Linked DNA regions of Homo sapiens: all the other regions are linked to region 7. Evidence: promoter capture Hi-C in 16 types of primary human blood cells and fetal thymus (Javierre and others, 2016). All regions are on one chromosome and are shown on one strand. Each heading gives the region's core, a stretch centred on a gene start or on the middle of the fragment in contact. The rest is flanking DNA. Distances are from core to core; before and after follow the strand shown.

Region 1 (2,700 bases), core at 42-2,541, 720 kb before region 7:
TTCCAAGAAAATCTCAACTCACACAGCCAGAGCTGATCTTATCACAGAGTTTTGAGAAGCCTGGGATACAAAGACTGGTGGACTTTTAAAAGCAGAGTGATTGGGGATTGGCTGATTCATGTAAGCATGGTTGTACATACATGAACCTCAGAAAGGGGTTACTAAAATGAGGCTCTCAGAGATTGGGCAGGGGTCTGTGGTTACTTGTTCAAGGCTTGGGACTAGGGCCAAGGAGTTGTCACTTTTTTATTTTTTTCCCTTGAATTTGAAAAATAGGAACTTTTTATTCTCAAATGAAAGTGCTTCCATTCCTTCATCGTTATTGTGGCCCTTCTAAACAAAACAAAACACAAGCACACAAATACCTTTTCATTTAAAAAAAGGAGGGGGAAAAGTTCCCCCCTCCTTTTTTTTTTTGTTTAGCAGTTTCCTAACTGCTTTAGGGAAACCAACAAAGGATAAAAAATAAAATGCAAGTAAATTACAGGTTTCATAACTGTTGCCAACCACTTTGGGGATGGGAAGCTGACTTTTACCCATAATTTATCCATTCTAAGCTACCACAATTTATTCATTCTTAGATCCATTCTTATAGCATAATTTATCAATCCTAAGATAAAATATTCCATGTAAAATGCCCAGTGGATGAATTAACTATGAAATAGTTCAATGTTTTCATATTTATAGATCCTCTATAGATACTGTTCTCCATAGAATCTTAGAGCTCAGTAAAATCTGTATTTTCACCATTAGAAAACAGCAGGCTAACCGGGGCGGCCAACTATTTCCACATCATGCACCAACCTATCAATTTCAATTCAAAATAAATCTCAATTCCTAATGTTTAGGGTAGGCATGGAACTACCATAAAATTCCACTGATATGCACAAGAAAATATTATTTCCCAAAAGGGTACATAAAGGACTTCTCTGGGGATTTTTTAGTATAATGATCTCGTAAGGATATTCTATTATAGAAAAAAAAATACATTCTAAAAGAAAATGTTGGCCGGGTGCAACGGCTCACACCTGTAATCCCAGCACTTTGGAAGGCTAAGGCGGGCAGATCACCTGAGGTCAGGAGTTGGAGACCAGCCTGACCAATATGGTGAAACCCTGTCTCTACTAAAAATTACCAAAAAATTGGCTGGGTCCTACTCGGGACGCTGAGGCAGGAGAATCGCTTGAACCCGGGAGACAGAGGTTGCAGTGAGCCGAGATCACACCACTGCACTCCAGCCTGGGCGACAGGGCAAAACTCCGTCTCAAAAAAAAAAAAAAAAAATGTCATTCAGGTAATACAGTAATAAACAATACTTTTTAAGCCACAGAACTTTTTTTTAGTTCCTGTGAAATCGCACAAAACGATGGTCACCAAAAAGGATTCTGGAGTTGTGTGCCCGGGTTTACATCAGCTCCACCATTTATGAGCTGTGTAATCTTCAGGAAATCACTTACTCTCTCCAGGCCTCAGCTGGCTCTTCTGTAAAACAGGGCGAGTATGACCTAATTCACAGAGTAGTTATGAGGATAAATGAGTTAATACATGCAAAACAGCACATAAGCACTGAGTTTGCTATTAATTAACTCCAAAAAACTAAATGAAATGTCCCAACTATTGGAATACAGGACTTTTTAAAAAGCAACTTTAAAAACACAGAATACTTGGATCATATATTCAGCAGATCTGGGTTCAAATCACTGGGAGATACCGGTTTCCACCTATGTAACACATTGCCCTAACAGGTCTAGGATAGCCAGAGGATGAAGGGCAGGGCAGAAACCAAGTTTGCAATATGCTATTGGTGAACTTATGAGGGCAATCATAAATTAACCAACAGCATATTGCAAACTTGGGTTCAAATTAAAAACGTGTCTCCCAAATCCCAGAATCTCTTCAGCTAAAAATCTTAGCATAGCTGTCATCTTCCCCCATAAACAGTGATCAACTCCTTTCAGACATGTCCTAACCCTCACTGTTCCTCCCCTCAACTAGAGGGCCGGTAGGACAACCTCTTGTCTCATCTTCACTCTTGTACTTCCTTTCTTAACACACATCTGTCACTTCATGTTTAAGGACGACGGGCTCAATGCTGTCTTCGCAGTGAAGTCCTAACTCCAACCGAAATTTAACCGAAATATTAATACACACTCATACATGGCCAACTCTCCAAGAACATCTTTAAATAAGTTACACATACATTACCGACTTCCAAATACAGCTGAACATGTACTTTACACAACTCTTTTTACATGTGGTCCTCTCTCCCACTAATGCTCCTCACCCCCAAAAATGGTACCCAGACTCCAAACCCCCTCTTTTGATAAAGGCTCTGCGTGGCAGATGCCCACAGTACTCTACAAACTGCTGCCCCACTTGCCAATCTGCATTGTCAGTTACCTGCTTACCAGTTTCTCCTCCCCCACCCCACTCCTCCACAGCCAGTATATTCCTCAAGATCCCAAGAGGCAGTGATTACCCGTGCAAATAGAGTAAGTTTTAAGCACGCAGGCAAGTCTTCTGTTCAAATAAACTACTTAAAATATCTAATTATTTCTCATTCTGCATCTGTACAGTATTTAAAAGGGCAGTTAAAATTAACATTCCAAAGTCAACTGTAGTAGAAATTTTGTAAACGGAATCTATTTCAATGCAACCAGCAACGGCAGATGAAAAGTAATGTTAAAGTCAACATCTGTA
Region 2 (2,700 bases), core at 103-2,602, 740 kb before region 7:
ACGGGACCACCTGGCCTGCAGAGATAACCCTCAATGGGGCTGTCTGGCCTGGGGGAAGAACCCGTGACGGAGCTGTCTGGCCCACAGGGAGAACTCCTGACTGGACCATCTGGCCAGTAGGAAGAACCCCAGAAGTTGCTGTTTGCCCAGGGATAACCCCTGCAGGAGTCATCTGGCCTGCAGGAGTCATCTGGCCTGCAGGAAGGACTCCAGACGGGACCGCCCGACTCACAGAAAGCACCCCTGGCGAGACAGCCTGCAGGACCCCAGGGGTGACAGAGGGGCTCACAGGAAGAACACCAGGCCCAACAGGTCTGTTTATGGGTCCCACAGGCTGGGTGAGGGGTAAAACCCCAGGGCGAACAGTCTGATTTATGGGGAGGACACTAGTTCCAACAGACTTATTGACAGGTCCGACTGGCTGACTCAAGGGCAACACAGGAGGATTCACAGACTGATGAAGTGGAACCCCGTGAGAAAGAAAGACGGGCTGAGGTGCTGGGGGCTGCAGGGTGAGGCTGTTCTGGCCCACAGGCAGAGGGCTGGAGACCAGAGTCATGTGGGATTGGCCAGCAGCAGGGGGGGAATGAGTGAGGCTTCCAGGGGCACCCTGGGCCACAGTCACTGGCTGTCCTGCGGCTGGGCTTGGACTGTTCTGTGGCAAAGCAAGATGGAAGCAAGGAGGCTGCGCTGGAGCGCTTGGAGCACTGCCATTTGCTGGTGCAGCCAAATGTGCTGCTGGTTTTGGAGCAATGTGCGTTTGCTTCAAGAGTCCAGTCCTCTTAATATGTTCTGAAATCACAGATCTAAGCTTATTCTCCAAATCTCTGTGTATGTCTGATGTCAAAATGTGATACATTAACGCATCCTGGCTGCTGGCATTGGCGTTGCACTTTTTACAGTAATATTTGTCAGGTGGTGGGATCTTCTCTATAGAAACAGTATCGTTAGTTTTCGGTTGCTCACCCATTTCCTCAGTTCTTAGGCCAAAGTAGGAGTTAATTAAGTAGTGAAAATGGGCTACCAGCACATGCTTCTTCATGCTGTAGTACAAAGTGTTTGAAAAGTTACATTTTAGACATGTGAAACTTATCACATCGCTCCTAGATGATTTAGTTTCACCTAAAATATTCACTGTGTAGTTCTGGACTTTCCGGACAGGTGCATGGAACATTCTGAAGTGCCTTCCCACAACTTTGGGCTGAGATGCAAATACACAGTTTGGGCAAGGGATCACCAGCTCTTGGTCAATTTCATCTTCATGGTAACGATGTAAATGATTCTTGAATGAAGTAAGCACCTTTGTAGAGTATTTACAGAGGCCACAACAGTATGGCTTTGTTCGATATCTCTGTTAAAAGAAAAGAAAGCCTTAAGCATAATTGAATAAACTGTCAGATGCTAACCTTCCACAGTCCCTGAGGACTTGATCCCTTTTCTTCTAATGTGCTAGGCATTTAACCTGACTTAATGTTTTCTAACCCAGGGGTTGGCAAACTTTTTCTGTGAAGGGCCAGAGAGTGATTATGTTAGGACTGTGGGCCATACAGTACAGTCTCTGTGGCAACTACTCAGCACTGCCATTGTTGTACAAAAGTCCCCAAAATAATTTGTAATTTATGTTCCAATAAAACTTTATTTACAAACACCAATTTGAATTTCATATACTTTCCACATGTCACAAAATAGTATTGTCATTTTTTTCTTAAACATTTAAAAGCCTAACAACCACTCCTAGCTCATGGCTCACGGGCTAATTCATACAAATATAGGATTTGGCTCACAACTCATAGTTTGCTGACCCCTGTTCTAAGTCATCCACTAAAACCACAAATATAATTACTTAGTCCTGTATTCTGAATTATTAATAACAGCATCAATTTTAAAAGCTTCATTAATTTTCTACAAAAGAAAGTTATTTTCTCCCCCTCATCCCATTTCTCTTAATTCCAATGTTGTTTTTGCTCCAAATTCTAAAACCTCTGGAATTTATCCATAACTAACCTAGCTTTCAAAATGTTAAACCCATCATTACTATCTTTCTACTTCCTCTATTTCTAGAGAAGGTAGGAGCCAAATGGACAGTGTTTGGCCCATGCAGGTACCCAATAAACTATCTGATAAAACAGTAAAGAAAGTGAGACTAAGCCTAAACTCACACTATGGATGACCCTAAGATAAGGGTAAGGCCACAGAACGCAACACTGACCATATGGGATTTCTATTTAAAGCACATTTTGGGAAATTTAACAAGTTCGCGGCCTAAAAGCATATTCATACAACAGGATGCAATCTGTTCTAACATCTAGTAAGACTTGCTGGTTTGCAATAACTTGAGAGCACAGTGAAATCTTTGGTCTCATGACAGAGTCTTGAGAACCCAGAGCTGGTGAAACACAAAACACCTGCTCCCCAGTTCCACAAACAAGGAAGCTAAGACCTAGCTTCATCTAAAGCCCCAGAGCTGGCTGTGGTACTACCACAGTGATCAAGGGTTAATTCTCATCCTTTCCTAAATCTGTGTGCTCATTATCACTCTCTCTCACACACACACACACACACACACACACACACACTCTTCCATTCTTCAGTTTTTTGTTTTTTTTGACAGAGTCTCACTCTGTTACTGAGGCTGGAGTGCAGTGGCGTGATCTCAGCTCACTGCAACCTACGCCATCCCGGTTCAAGCGATTCTCCTGC
Region 3 (2,700 bases), core at 37-2,536, 760 kb before region 7:
AGCTCCTTACGTTTCTGCTTGATTAATTCAGTGGACTTTCATTTTATTTTGCAGTAGCCCAACTTTAGGGTAAAGTTTACACACTGCCACAAATGTGTCATGCCACAGGCTGGCAGGTGTGGGCAGGCGGATCCCACAGGGTCCCTGGGAGACCTGAGGAAGAGAGCTGCACAGCCCCCATGGGAGGCTGGGCATATTGGTGAGCCTTGAGGCTCCATGTGCCTACAAATAGCACTGACTGTGCGGGACCTCACAGAAGGGAAGCAGCCATCCTCTGATCCCACTCCTTCCTCTACTCATCTCCCCTCATCAGCTGCTAACCAAAAACGCAGGGAAATGCTCACACGCCCGACTGAGTGACACATTCAGGGGCCTTGAATGCTGGCTAGAAGACACTGTGGTGGGGCTTGCGCATAGAAAAGAAGAAAGCAGGAAAGGTCTCTCTTAGTTGTAATTAACCTTAGAAAAAAACGAGCCTCCGTCTTACAGTTGAGAGAAGGAAATATGGGAGAATGGGCAAAGCTTAAGAAGTCCCCAGTCCAGCCTGCTGCCTCCCAGAAGGCTGAGGCACTCGCCAGCCCTCCAAGCCCTAAACCCTCCACTGCCATTGATTCTCTCTGCTGCAGCTGCCTGCTAGCACCTTTTAATCTCTGAGTTCTTTGGTTTGGTGCCTGTGGAGCTGTAAGGAGAGTGCTAGAGAGTTAATTTTAGGGGCTGCACTTGAGCTTGCCTGATTTCAGCTCAGCCTGCAGGTCTGGAATGCTCCTGTGCACCCTGGGTGCTTCGGCGTCACGCAGATGGAACAGCAGTGCCAGGTGTATGACGGCCGAGGGCTCAGGCGGGGCTCGGTTGTGTGTCCCCTCTAACTGTCCCCTCTCCCGCAGAGGAGGCCGAGCGTGGCAGCCTCGGCGCGGGCTCGCTGTGCAGGCGGAGGCGGGCGCTGGGCGCGCTGCGTGATGAAGGACCCCGGCGGCGTGCACACCTGGACATCGGCCTCCCGCGCGACTTCCGCCCCGTATCATCCATCATCGATGTGGACCTGGTCCCCGAGACGCACCGGCGAGTGCGGCTGCACCGGCACGGCTGCGAGAAGCCGCTGGGCTTCTACATCCGCGATGGCGCCAGCGTGCGCGTGACCCCGCACGGGCTGGAGAAGGTGCCCGGCATCTTCATCTCGCGCATGGTACCCGGGGGCCTGGCGGAGAGCACCGGGCTGCTGGCTGTGAATGACGAGGTCCTGGAGGTGAACGGCATTGAGGTGGCCGGGAAGACGCTGGACCAGGTCACGGACATGATGATCGCCAACAGCCACAACCTCATCGTCACCGTCAAGCCCGCCAACCAGCGCAACAACGTGGTGCGCGGCGGCCGCGCGTTGGGCAGCTCGGGACCGCCCTCGGACGGCACCGCGGGCTTCGTGGGTCCCCCCGCCCCGCGCGTCCTGCAGAACTTCCACCCCGACGAGGCGGAGAGCGATGAGGACAACGACGTCGTCATCGAGGGCACACTGGAGCCTGCACGTCCCCCCCAGACCCCGGGCGCGCCCGCAGGCAGCCTCTCCCGGGTCAATGGCGCGGGCCTGGCGCAGCGGCTGCAGCGGGACCTGGCCCTGGACGGCGGCCTCCAGCGGCTGCTCAGCTCCCTGCGGGCCGACCCCCGTCACAGCCTGGCGCTGCCGCCAGGCGGCGTGGAGGAGCACGGGCCCGCGGTCACGCTCTAGACTCCCGAGAGGCCCCCAAATCCTAGCTCCAGTTCCCCGGTAAGGACAGGGACAGGACCTGCAGACTGCATCCGCTCATTTTTTGTTGTTTTTGTGACCACAAAAACAACGCTGCTCTTTGTTTCAACTTCCGGATATAAAAACACAAGTATTGCCTATTTTTATAGAATTTCGCCACAGAACTTAAAATGAACGCCTGTAGAGACACTCTATACCAGGCCTGAGTGCAGGTCTTGGCGCCTTTGCAAAGTGATAGAAAAGATCTGACCAAGTGCAAAAAAATGCTTTTTAAAATTTTTACAAATACTTTGTTTTTAAAGTGAAGCTTTAAAATTACTTTTTTAAAATAGTCAAATTCATGTTTTTAAGTAAGTTGGCCCATGCAACATATCTCAGCATTCTTGCTGTGCTCTCTGCTGACTTGCAGGCGAGGCCGACTGTGCTGATGTACGTGACAAGAGGCTGGTTTTTAATAACGAATGCAGCCAGGTGCAGTGGCTCACGTCTGTAATCCCAGCACTTTGGGAGGCCTACGTGGGCTGATCACGAGGTCAGGAGGTCGAGACCAGCATGGCCAACATGGTGAAACCCTGTCTCTACTAAAAATATAAAAATTAGCCAGGTGTGGTGGCAGGCGCCTGTAATCCCAGCTACCTTGGGAGGCTGAGGCAGGAGAATCGCTTGAACCCGGGAGGCAGAGGTTGCAGTGAGCTGAGATCGCACCACTGCACTCCAGCCTGGGTGACAGAGCAAGACTCTGTCTCGGGAAAAAAAAAAAATACACCCAAACCTGTCCATGTACAACCATGGAGATGAATTCCAGATTTTCACACTGTTCATAGTCATAATTCGGTTGGGACAGGAGAGCTCCCACCAGCACACTTATGGCACCCGCAGCTGTGGAATTGTTCCGGGGCTTTTTTTTGTTTGTTTTGAGACATAGTGTCTTGTTCTGTCATCCAAGCTGGAGGGATCTCAGC
Region 4 (2,788 bases), core at 282-2,781, 590 kb before region 7:
AAACCACCACCTTGTCTCACCACTGCCAGAGACACAGATGTGGCTTCTGTACATAAGTCCCTATTAAATGTTTCTCTCTAAAGAACTAGATTTGCCAGTCCCTTTCTTTGGCGTCTCAGCTTCCTCTGACTTTGGGGCAGATTTGTATAGGCCTGGCCACTGAGGAACAGTCACTAACCATTAGGAAAAGGCAAATGAAAACCACCTTATCATTTTATACCTACCAGTATGACCATAATACAAGGCTGTGAAAGGAAAGTATCTTGGGTCCCTTCAACCTGCCTCCCATTCTAGTCAGTCATCCCTCTGCTCACTGAGACAGATGCACAGCTGACTGTCTCCTTTGGAAAGGCTGATCAGAAACTCACAAGAATGCAACTGTTCATCTCTCACATATCTGTGACCTGGAAGCCCCCTTCCCGCTTTGAGTCTTCCTGTCCTTGCTTCAAGTTGTCCCGCCTTTCCAGACTGAACCAATGTTCTTCTTACATATATTGATTGATGTCTCATGCCTCCCTAAAATGTATAAAACTAAGCTGTGCCCCGACCACCTCGGGCACATATCATCAGGACCTCCTGAGGCAGTGTCATGGATGCATCCTCAACCTTGGAAAAATAAACTTTCTAAATTAATTGAGACCTGTCTCAGATTTTTGGGGTTCACGAGGTACATAAATAACAAGCATGGGCAAGAATGTGGAAAAACTGAAACCCTCACACATTCCTGGTGAGAATGTAAAATGGTGTAGCCAATTTGGAAAACAATTTAGCAATACTTAAAAATGTTAAACAGTTACCACATGAAAACTTAAGTCCACACAAAAGCTTGTACATGAATGTTCATAGCAGCATTACTCATAATAGTAAAAAAATGCAAACAACCCAAATGTCAATCAACTGATGGATAAAATGTAGTATATCCATATAATGGAATAGTTTCTAATTTTTTGTTTTATTTAATGAAATATTCATCAGCAATTAAAAAGAACTAGCTGTTGATGTCTGCTACAATATGGACCTTGAGAACATTATGTTAAATGAAAGCAGTCACAAACGACTCCATATTTTGTGTTTCCATCTATATGAAATGTCTAGAATAGGTAAATCTATAGAGGCAGAAAATAGATTAGTGATTGCCAGGGGCTGAGGGAATGGGAGGGAAATGGGAAATGACTGTTAATGGGTATAGGTTTTCTTTTCGGGGTGATAACATTCTCCTAAAATTAGATTGTGGTATTGGTTCCACAACACTGAAAAACCATCTCACCTTCAATTGGTGAATTTTATAGTATATGGATTAGATCTCAACAAAAGTTTTTTTTTTTTTTTTTTTTTGAGACGGAGTCTGGCTCTGTCGCCCAGGCTGGAGTGCAGTGGTACAATCTCGGCTCACTGCAAGCTCCGCCTCCCGGGTTCACGCCATTCTCCTGCCTCAGCCTCCCGAGTAGCTGGGACTACAGGCGCCCGCCACCGCGCCCGGCTAATTTTTTTTTTGTATTTTTAGTAGAGACGGGGTTTCACCGTGTTAGCCAGGATGGTCTCGATCTCCTGACCTCGTGATCCGCCCGCCTCGGCCTCCCAAAGTGCTGGGATTACAGGCGTGAGCCACCGCGCCCGGCCAAAAGTTTTTATTAAAGAAAAGATTTATCTGGAGATGGATAGTGGTGATGGTTGCATAATATGAATGTACTTAATGTCCTTAAAAATTAAGGCGATAAATCTTGTTATAAGTAACACAATAAAAAATGAGTTTCAATAAATTATTTGGGGACATTTGAGTCTTATGCCTTAGCTTGGAACAACTCTCCTGTGAATAAAATGCTTGTGATGTGTTAAGCAACTGTGTTTGTATCTGAAATGAGTGACTACCAAAATGACGGTAAGGAATTTTTTAGAAGGCAATAGCCTGACCTTAGTAAGGGCTCAGATTTCTCCAGTGTGTACCTGGTGCCAATGAAGTACAGGAGATTTTGTTTTATCATCCCATCTCATGGATGAGGAAACTGAAGTTTGTTGAGATAACTTATGCAAGGCACAGATGAACCTGAACACGCCTTTATGTAACTAAAACCCTCACTGTTAACCACTATGCTTATATTCTGTGCCTCTGCTTTACTCAATTATAAAATGAAAGAGATTTAGATGATCTCTAATATCCTACCAACCTGAAATTGTTTCATTACAATAAAGCATTTCGTATATAATTGGGAAATATTCTGTATTATGTAAAAAGCTTAATCTGGCAGTGAGCTGCACTTGTGATTCTAGTATTTAAATTGTGGGTGCATATTATCAAAGCACCTTATGGTGCTGTGTCCCAGAGGAAACCAAACATGGAACCCATTTCAATCCCCATGCCAGCAGGCTCTTCAGACTGTAGTTCTCACCATGCCACAGCCCATCTGAGAGACACCACAGCATCTGCATAGTGATTTGTTGTTGTTTTTGAGATGGAGTCTCACTCTGTCACCCAGGCTGGAGTGAAGTGGTGCGATCTCAGCTCACTGCAACCTCCACCCCCTGGGTTCAAGCGATTCTCCTGCCTCAGCCTCCCTAGTAGCTGGGATTATAGGCGGGCGCCACCATGCCCGGGTAATTTTTTGTATTTTTAGTAGAGACGGGGTTTCACCATGTTGGCCAGACTGGTCTTGAACTCCCGACCATAGGCGATCCGCCGGCCTCGGCCTCCCAAAGTGCTGGGATTACAGGCGTGAGCCACCGCGCCCGGGCGTGATTTGTTTTAAATTTGTCATCTAAAGGACCACCAGGATAGCTAGATAGTAGACAA
Region 5 (2,700 bases), core at 142-2,641, 650 kb before region 7:
GGAACAGGGGCACAGGAGAAAGGGACAGCCTTTTCATTTGCACCTTTCTTTCATTACTTTTCATTTGTTCCCTTCTCAGTGGTTTCTTCTCTTTTTTTTTTTTGACACGGAGTCTCTCACTCTGCTGCCTGGAGTGCAGTGGCACAATCTCGGCTCACTGCAACCTCCGCCTTCCCGGTTCAACTGATTCTTCTGCCTCAGCCTCCCGAGCAGCTGAGACTACGGGCGCACGCCACCACACCTAGCTAATTTTTTTGTATTTTTAGTAGAGACAGGGTTTCACCGTATTGGCCAGGCTAGTCTCTAACTCCTGACCTTGTGATCCACCTGCCTCGGCCTCCCAAAGTGCTGGGATTACAGGCTTGAGCCACTGCACCTGGCCTCTTCTCTTTTTTAACTGTACATTATCTTTTCAGGATTTAAAACTTAAATTTAAAACTTTATTCATATAAGCGTTTATGTTATAAAAAGTTAATTATTACCTGGGCCCGGTGGCTCACACCTATAAATCCCAGCACTTTGGGAGGCTGAGACAGAAGGATCCCTTGAGGCCAGGAGTTCAAGACTAGCCTGGACAATATAGCAAGACTCTGTCTCTAATTAAAAAAATAAAAATTTTTAAATTTTAAAAAGTTTTTTTGAAAACCTTACCTCAGCTAGAGCTGCATTTCCCTTGTCTTGAACAAACACTATCGGTGGCACATTCCTCAGGGTCTGCTGGGACATCAAAAGGTGCCTAGGAGACAGAACGCACAGACCCTCACAGCTGTGCCGTGACACTCAGTGGAGAGGCGTGACAGTGCTGAACATATGATTCAAGATGTAACCAAGAGGCAGGAGTGAGAGGCCGGGCGCGGTGGCTCACGCCTGTAATCCCAGCACTTTGGGAGGCCGAGGCGGGCGGATCACGAGGTCAGGAGATCGAGACCATCCTGGCTAACATGGTGAAACCCCGTCTCTACTAAAAATACAAAAAATTAGCCAGGCGTGGCGGCAGGCACCTGTAGTCCCAGCTACTCGGGAGGCTGAGGCAGAAGAATGGCCTGAACCCGGGAGGCGGAACTTGCAGTGAGCCAAGATAGTGCCACTACACTCCGGCCTGGGTGAAAGAACAAGACTCGGTCTCAAAAAAAAAGAAAAAAAAAAAAAAGAGGCAGGAGTGAGATTTATCGTATTACTCAAAAATGAAAACCTCAGCCCAGAAGAGTCATCTTTAGTCAACTACCACATCAAAAAAGGGATGCAAAATGCATCATAACTGCAATTGCCTTGACTTTTCTCAACGCAACTTGTGCGATCTGTACAAATAACCTGATCTGAACTCATCGCCGTAGCCTTGGGCTCCAGGGTCTGTGCACTAACAGCCTGTCCTCCTGTGCCCAGTGGACACGCCCTGGCACGACACAACCCTCAGGTTCCCAGATATTAGACACAGAAGTGATATTTGTATCATGCACATCACATAATACAGACCTAGGGCCAATGTAGGCACGGCACATATAACCAGCGAAAGCCGTGACCACAGATCTTTGGTACACAGCTATGGAAAACGGTGACCCTAAATCTTGGGTGACCGCAGGAGTTGGGAAGAGGGACATTCAGCTCAACTGAATTTTCTGATACCTAAAAATCAGAAAACAATGCTGTTTCAACACTTGTCAATAATCTCTCATTTTCTTGCTTTTGTTAAACAGTAAGAAATAAGCATTCTCTGATATGCAGTTTCACAGACCCCTGGGCATCATCGTGTGTGGTAATGATGCAGGGAAGCCAGGCAGGGTGCCTGGAACGAAGCCCACACACGGCCACCTTTTCTACGTCTGTCCCCACCCTAAACATGGGGCATGATGAGAAGGGAGGCAGAAAGGAGGAATTCCAGTTCTGAGAGAGCTGGACAGTGAGCTGGATTTGGATTTCTGCATTTTTTAAAACTGAGGAGGAAACTGAATAATTTCTTTATTATCATCCAGCTCAGCAATTCCCAAAATTGTTGGTCCCAGGATCCTTTACATTCTTAAAAATTACTGAAGATCCCAAAGAGCATTTGTTTATGTGGGTTCTATCTATCAATATTTACTATACTACAAACTAAAACTGAGAACTCTAAAAGCTACGTCTTTTTAAAGTCGCTTAAAAACCCACTAAATGCTTACATAGACATTTTTAACAAAAAATATATATATACACTCCCCCCCACAAAATCAATGAAAAGCATGGAATTGTTTATGTATTTGCAAATTCTCCAAGGCCAGCTTCATGGAAGACAGCTGGGATCTCACTGCTGCTTCTGCACTCTGTCCTTCCTCTCACTGAAATACAAGAAGAGCCAGCGCAGTAGCTCATGCCTGTAATCTCAACACTTTGGGAGGCTCAGGCCAGAGGATCGCTTAAGCCCAGGAGTTGGAGACCAGCCTAGACAACATAGAGAGATCCTATCTCTACAAAAAATACAAAATTAGCCAAGTGTGGTGGCATGCACCTGTGCTTCCAGCTGTATGGGAAGCTGAGGCAGGAAGATCACTTGAGCCTGGGAGGTTGAGGCTGCAGGAGCCAAGATTGTGTCTCTGCACTCCAGCCTGGGAGACAGAATGAGATCCTGTCTCAAAAAAAGCAAAAAAAAAAAAAAAAAAATTCAGGCCTCCCAGTTATGTGTTGGAAAAGACAGAATTTAACAGCCATGAGAAAAGTATGGATCTTCTT
Region 6 (2,852 bases), core at 324-2,823, 620 kb before region 7:
AAGGTATTCTAGCCCATATGGGAGCCACCATCCTTATGGCTCCAGAACAAACTCTTTGTCCTCCCCTTATTAAAAACCAATGTTAACCCAGAGGTGTGGACAAGTCACGGGAAAATTGGCCAGGCTACAACTGTTATACTGGTCCAAATTCACCTTAAAAATTCCACCTTCTTCCGTAACCAAAAGCAGTACCCGCTAAAGCCAAAAGCTGAAAAACAGAACAAAAACCTAAAAGCCATTATGAATAAATTAAAAGCACAAAACCTTCTCAAGCATTGCAACACCCCAATATTAGGGGTACAGAAACCCAGTGGGAAATGCAGGCTAGTTCAGAACCTCCATCTTGTTAATAAAGCTATAGTTCCAATCCATCCAGTGGTTCCTAATCCGTATACTTTGCTAACTCAAATACCTGAGGGAACTAAATGATTCAGTTTTAAACCTAACAAGTGCCTTTTTCTGCATACCATTGCACCCTAACTCCCAATACTTGTTTGCTTTAAGAAAGTCCCTCCAACCAGCCAGGGGCAGTGGCTCATGCCTGTAATCCCAGCACTTTGGGAGGCCGAGGGGGGCAGATCACGAGGTCAGGAGATCAAGACCATCCTGGCTAACACAGTGAAACCCCGTCTCCACTAAAAAATACAAAAAATTAGCCAGGCATGGTGGCGGGTGCCCATAGTCCCAGCTACTCGGGAGGCTGAGGCAGGAGAATGGCATGAACCTGGGAGGTGGAGCTTGCAGTGAGCTGAGATCATGGCACTGTAGTCCAGCCTGGGCAACAGAGCAAGACTCCATCTCAAAAAAAAAAAAGATCCCTCCAACCAGGCTAACTAGTTAACCTGTACAGTGCTGCCTCAGGGAGTCCAAAACAGTGCCCACCTGTTTGGGCAAGCATTATCAAAAAATCTCTCTGAGTTTTCTCATCCTCAGGTTAAAGTTTTACAATATGTATATAATATTATCCTCTGTGCCCCAACTGAGGGGGTTTCTCAAGAAGGCACTAACGCTCTTTATTTTCTAGCAGGTAGAGGATATAAAGTTTCCAAATCTAATGCTCAGCTCTGTCAAACTTCAGTGAGGTACCTTGGTCTAGTCTTGTCAGAAAGAACCAAAACATTAGGTGAGAAGATAATTAAGACTATTTCCCCATTTCTCCTCCCTGGAACACTCAAACAGCTAAGAGGATTTTTGGGCATTACAGGTTTTTGTAAATTGTAAATACCTGGGTACAGTAAAATGGCTTGCCCTTTATACTGCCTTATAAAATAAACTCAATCAGCTATAAACTCACTCCCTAACTTAAAAACCTGAGGCTCAGAAGGCCTTTAATCAGCTAAAGCCTGACTTAAAGCACCTACGCTCAGTCTTCCCATAGGGAAGGCGTTTAATCTTTATGTCTCAAAAAGAAAGGGAATAGCCTTGGGAGTTTTAACTTAGGCTCAAGGTCCACCCCAGCAGCCATTTGGTTACCTAAGCAAAAAGCTTAACTTGGTGGCTAAAAAATGGCCAGCTTGCCTCTGAGCAGTTGCAGTTGCATGGTTGAGTTAGCCATGAGGAATAAGTTAACTGTTTACACACCCCATAATGTAGCAGCACTGCTATCCTCTAAAGGAAGTCTGTGGCTAACAGGTAATCACCTCCTCAAATATCAAGCTTTGCTGCTGGAAAAACCTGCAGTTCAGTTAAAGACCTGTCCTGGCCTGAACCCAGCCACTTTCCTCCCAGAGGAAACTGGAGAACCTGAACAGGAGTGTAAACAAATGGTGGTGCAAATCTATGCAGCCAAAAAAACCTCAAGGAAATAGGAGGAGGAAGTCACATCTTACGTGGATGGTGGTGGGCAAAGAGAGAGCCTGTGCTGGCAAACTCCCGTTTTTAAAGCCATCAGATTTCCTGAGACTCATTCACTATCATGAGAACAGTGCAGGAAAGACCCGCCCCCACAATTCAATCACCTTTCACCGGGTTCCTCCCACAACACAAGGGAATTGTGGGAGTTACAATTCAAGATGAGATTTGGGTGGGGACACAGCCAAACCATATCACTATCTTGGGGTTCCCTCTGCTGGCTTTACCTTTAACCATTAAAAATGGATATAAATAAAGCATGGTATGGGAGCATTTTTAACGCTACGCAAAAAAACACACACCCTGAGGGTAAGACTTACTCCTTTAGACTAGGTAAAGTTAATAAGATAGCAAATGCCTTCTTCTGCTTTAAAAGCAGAGGAAAAGAACCATACTTGGGAAACCTTTAAATATTCCAAAAGTATGCTCATAATTGCTAAGAGTACAGAGATCTGGAGACTAAGAAGGAACAAGGGTGACACCAAACTGGGAGAGACTATAGAAAAATTTTAATCTAGCCAGACCTCCTAGGTGGAATTCCCAATGGGAATAGCTATCCCTGGGCAGAAATGCCACCCCTTGCCAACCTTATTATCAGGTAATAAATAACACATGGTCCTTGATATGGTTTGGCTGTGTCCCCACCAAAATCTCAACTTGAATTTTATCTCCCAGAATTCCCATGTGTTGTGGGAGGGACCCAGGGGGAGGTACTTGAATCATGGGAACCAGTCTTTCCTGTGCTGTTCTCATGATAAATTCTCTTGAGACCTGATGGGTTTATCAGGGGTTTTTGCTTTTGCTTCTTCCTCATTTTCTCTTGCTGCCACCATGTAAGAAGTGCCTTTCACCTCCCACCATGATTTTGAGACCTCCCCAGCCATTTGGAAATAAGTCCAATTAAACCTTTTCTTGTTCCTAGTTTCAGGTATGTCTTTATCAGCAGCATGAAAACAAACTAATGCAGTACATTGGTACCAGTAGAGTCGGGTGTTGCTGAG
Region 7 (2,700 bases), core at 120-2,619:
AATATTTCAGAGCTGGTAAGGAATTTGGAAAAGCGTCTTCCAATTTCCATTAGCATTGCAATCCCTAATCCCTAACTCGTATGCTCACACCTCTGCAAGGGTATTTTCAAAGCCACTTGCAGGAGCCCACCCGGCATCGCCAGGGGTGTGTGCCGGGGACGGGCTAAGGTGGGGGACTGGAATGTGAGATGCGCCGCAGGGGGGTCTCAGCGCCCCCCACACCGGGTTTCAGGGACCCACACTGTGCCATCTTTTTTTCACTATAAAGAAGCAGCTCGAAACTTGGCGGTTCCTTTTCAAACTTGCCTGAAACATCTTCTCTGGCTGGAACTCCTGCCTATAGGATTTCAAAATGGCTTAAATTCGGGGCTGTGCTGCGGCCGCGCTTTGGATCTTTTGGTCCTGCAGGTCCAGGAGCCGGCGTGACGGGCTCGGCCCTGGGGAATTCAGGGGCGCGGCGCGAGGGAGACGCCGCCACGAGCTCGGGGTGGGGGTGGGGGGCGCAGAACCCCCAAACCGCGATCTTGGCGCCAGAGGGTGGCTCTGCCTCGCTCAGGAAGACACGGGGCATCCTTCACTCCCAAGGAAGCCTCCCTTCCTCCCTCCCACGTGCCCTCTGTGGTCCTGACGGCCCAGCCTCGCCCGTCCCCAAATCGCCGGCCTGCGAGCCGCTTCCTCGGCGGGACCCGCGGCGGCCTCGCCTCGCGCCCTCAGCGCTGGGGCAGAGGAGACACCTATTGGCAGAAGGCGCGCTCGGAACCGGGCTGCTGGGAGCTGGGGGACGCCGTTCCCGGTCCGCGCCGCGCCCCTCCCTGGGCGCACAGACCCGGCCGACCTCGTTCTCTGGCCCGGACCCCTCCGTGCGGGCGACGGGGGCGGGGTCGGGGGGCGCGGCCCGGGCCGTGGGGGGCGCAGGGGTCCGGGGGCGGAGGCCGCGCGGGGCTTACCTTCCTCCGCTGACTTCATGGTGCCGCCGGCGCGCGGCGCGGGCCCCAAAGTTTCTCCTCTCCCGAAGACCGCAGCCGCAGGGCCAAGTGGAAACTTGGAAGGGACTGGAAAGCTGGTGCTTGGCATCCGCGCGGCGGCGGCGGGGAGTGGAGCGGCGGGCGGAGGCACAGGAGAAGCGGCCGCCCCGCGCTGCCGGGGTCGGGTCTCCGGGAAGACAGCCCTCGCCCCGGGCTCAGCGCCGCGCGCCCCGGAGGAAAGTCATCGAGGGGCGTGTGCGCGCGTGGCGGGGCCCGGCCGCGGCCCTAGGACCTGCGCGGTGGCTCCGAGCCCTGCCCGCGCCCCGGTGCCCGCGCCCTGCTGCTGGGATCTGGCGCGGCGACTCCGCCGGCGAGTTCGGAGCCTCTGAGTCTCGCTCTGACGCAGGGCCGCGCTCTGCCTCCTGCCTTTTTAAAGCTGGAAAACACCTCCCCCGCCTCCCCGCCGGCCCGGCGGCTCCCGCGCCCCCTCCCTGCCGTGACATCACGCCCCTGCTGCCCGGGCCCGCGCGGGGCCCCGGGGACGAGTCGCCGAGCGCCCGCCCCTCCCCGCGCCGCGGCAGCCGCTCGCCTGGGGGCAGGGGCGCAAGAGGCGGGGCGCGCACGGGGAGGGGGGGCGCACGGGGAGGGGGGGGCGCACGGGGAGGGGGGGCGCCCGGGGAGGGGGGCGCCCGGGGAGGGGGGGCGCACGGGGAGGGGGGCGCACGGGGAGGGGGGGCGCACGGGGAGGGGGGCGCACGGGGAGGGGCGCACGGGGAGGGGATGGGGGCGTAGGGGCGGGAACGGGGAATCCGGGGGCCGGGCAGGGGGGCGCTGGGGCTGGCGGGGGAAACGGGGGCGAACGGGCCAGACGGGACGCCTGAGTCCACGCGGGTGTCCGGAGGGAGCCCGGCCCTGCTGGAAAAGGGGCGGGGGGCGGGGGCCGGGGGCCGGGGAGGGGTGTCGAGAAAGCCCGGCATGCTGAAGTCATTATGTAAAATCGCAGGCTTCCCCCGCTGTGGAAATTTGGAAAAGCGCTTCACTGGCAGGCCCTAGAAAGGAAATTCCCATCCCGCTAAATTACTAACAGATTGCGTGGCCGTCCCGGGACGTCGAGTTATTGTCATTTTTATTCTGTAAATATCTGCTCGACCTAGACGGCCTGTGGCAGGGGCCGGCGTGGGGAGGCCCGGGGACGCGCTCACCTGCCCTAGCCGCCCGGAGGGGGCGTTTTATGGGCGCGACTGCGCGACTTCTGACGGGGGGAGGCCCCCCGGCCACTCACACTTTCCTCTCTTACGTCTCCCTGCGTCTCTTCGGGCGCAGCTCAGCTGCCAACACGGCACCGCATTTTCTTGTTGGCTTTGGATGGGGGGGGTTGGAGGTTAAAGTGTCTGGTGTGTAGAAACCATAAATCGATTGCACGACACCCTTATGTGATTTAAACTAAACCCAAAGGCTAAACTCGTGTCTGCTGCGGGGCCCAGGAGGTCCGCAGACCCCCAGGGATCACTGTGCCCCGTGGGTGCCCCCCACAAGCGCCTCCTCCCTGCCGGGGGAGGCGGTCGGGCGCTGCAGAGCCCGCGAAGGTGCGCGGCCAGAGCCCGTCCGTCCCGCGTCCCGAGGCCTGGCTCCATTCGGCCGCCCCGACTCAGCACAAATGGAACCCCGGCTTTTCCACCGCAGGCCTCGGCCTGGAGAGACGTGCCCGGATTAGCGGGGTGGTGGCCGCCTCGCT

What was found. The method cuts DNA at HindIII sites, captures the fragments that hold promoters and counts their contacts. A CHiCAGO score of 5 or more calls a contact.
Region 1: a contact is called between a fragment that was not itself captured here and the fragment with the promoter of NFATC1 in region 7, in 5 of 17 cell types (fetal thymus, erythroblasts, monocytes and 2 more). The highest score is 11.4, in fetal thymus.
Region 2: a contact is called between a fragment that was not itself captured here and the fragment with the promoter of NFATC1 in region 7, in 1 of 17 cell types (monocytes). The highest score is 5.5, in monocytes.
Region 3: a contact is called between a fragment that was not itself captured here and the fragment with the promoter of NFATC1 in region 7, in 4 of 17 cell types (erythroblasts, monocytes, total B cells and 1 more). The highest score is 7.0, in erythroblasts.
Region 4: a contact is called between a fragment that was not itself captured here and the fragment with the promoter of NFATC1 in region 7, in 4 of 17 cell types (monocytes, total CD4 T cells, M0 macrophages and 1 more). The highest score is 6.0, in monocytes.
Region 5: a contact is called between a fragment that was not itself captured here and the fragment with the promoter of NFATC1 in region 7, in 1 of 17 cell types (naive B cells). The highest score is 5.3, in naive B cells.
Region 6: a contact is called between a fragment that was not itself captured here and the fragment with the promoter of NFATC1 in region 7, in 5 of 17 cell types (naive B cells, monocytes, total CD8 T cells and 2 more). The highest score is 8.2, in naive B cells.

Annotation. Positions count from the first base shown.
Region 1 is chr18:80,110,151-80,112,850 of GRCh38, reverse strand. All of the region lies in intron 1 of ADNP2 (ADNP homeobox 2), which reads right to left. Among named protein-coding and RNA genes, the nearest start is that of ADNP2, 2.2 kb to the right of the region's middle. The HindIII fragment of the contact is 3,157 bases long and covers 1-2,700 here.
Region 2 is chr18:80,134,263-80,136,962 of GRCh38, reverse strand. It overlaps ADNP2 (ADNP homeobox 2), which reads right to left. Exons shown (of 4, transcript NM_014913.4): 4 at 1-1,351. Among named protein-coding and RNA genes, the nearest start is that of PARD6G-AS1, 12 kb to the left of the region's middle. The HindIII fragment of the contact is 1,078 bases long and covers 814-1,891 here.
Region 3 is chr18:80,158,791-80,161,490 of GRCh38, reverse strand. PARD6G (par-6 family cell polarity regulator gamma) reads left to right here. Exons shown (of 3, transcript NM_032510.4): 3 at 885-2,700. The coding sequence ends at 1,720. The region is part of intron 1 of PARD6G-AS1 (PARD6G antisense RNA 1); the gene reads right to left. Among named protein-coding and RNA genes, the nearest start is that of PARD6G-AS1, 12 kb to the right of the region's middle. RefSeq lists a silencer at 1,672-1,741. The HindIII fragment of the contact is 1,523 bases long and covers 525-2,047 here.
Region 4 is chr18:79,989,655-79,992,442 of GRCh38, reverse strand. It overlaps a transcript of TXNL4A not described here. Among named protein-coding and RNA genes, the nearest start is that of TXNL4A, 2.5 kb to the right of the region's middle. The HindIII fragment of the contact is 1,408 bases long and covers 828-2,235 here.
Region 5 is chr18:80,040,171-80,042,870 of GRCh38, reverse strand. It overlaps RBFA (ribosome binding factor A), which reads right to left. Exons shown (of 7, transcript NM_024805.3): 5 at 652-736. Among named protein-coding and RNA genes, the nearest start is that of RBFA, 7.1 kb to the right of the region's middle. The HindIII fragment of the contact is 3,769 bases long and covers 1-2,700 here.
Region 6 is chr18:80,019,144-80,021,995 of GRCh38, reverse strand. It overlaps a transcript of TXNL4A not described here. Among named protein-coding and RNA genes, the nearest start is that of RBFA, 14 kb to the left of the region's middle. The HindIII fragment of the contact is 171 bases long and covers 1,488-1,658 here.
Region 7 is chr18:79,394,599-79,397,298 of GRCh38, reverse strand. NFATC1 (nuclear factor of activated T cells 1) reads right to left here and starts at 1,369. Exons shown (of 10, transcript NM_001278669.2): 1 at 948-1,369. The coding sequence starts at 1,074. RefSeq lists silencers at 674-773, 1,134-1,533 and enhancers at 430-977, 2,619-2,700. The HindIII fragment of the contact is 8,960 bases long and covers 1-2,700 here.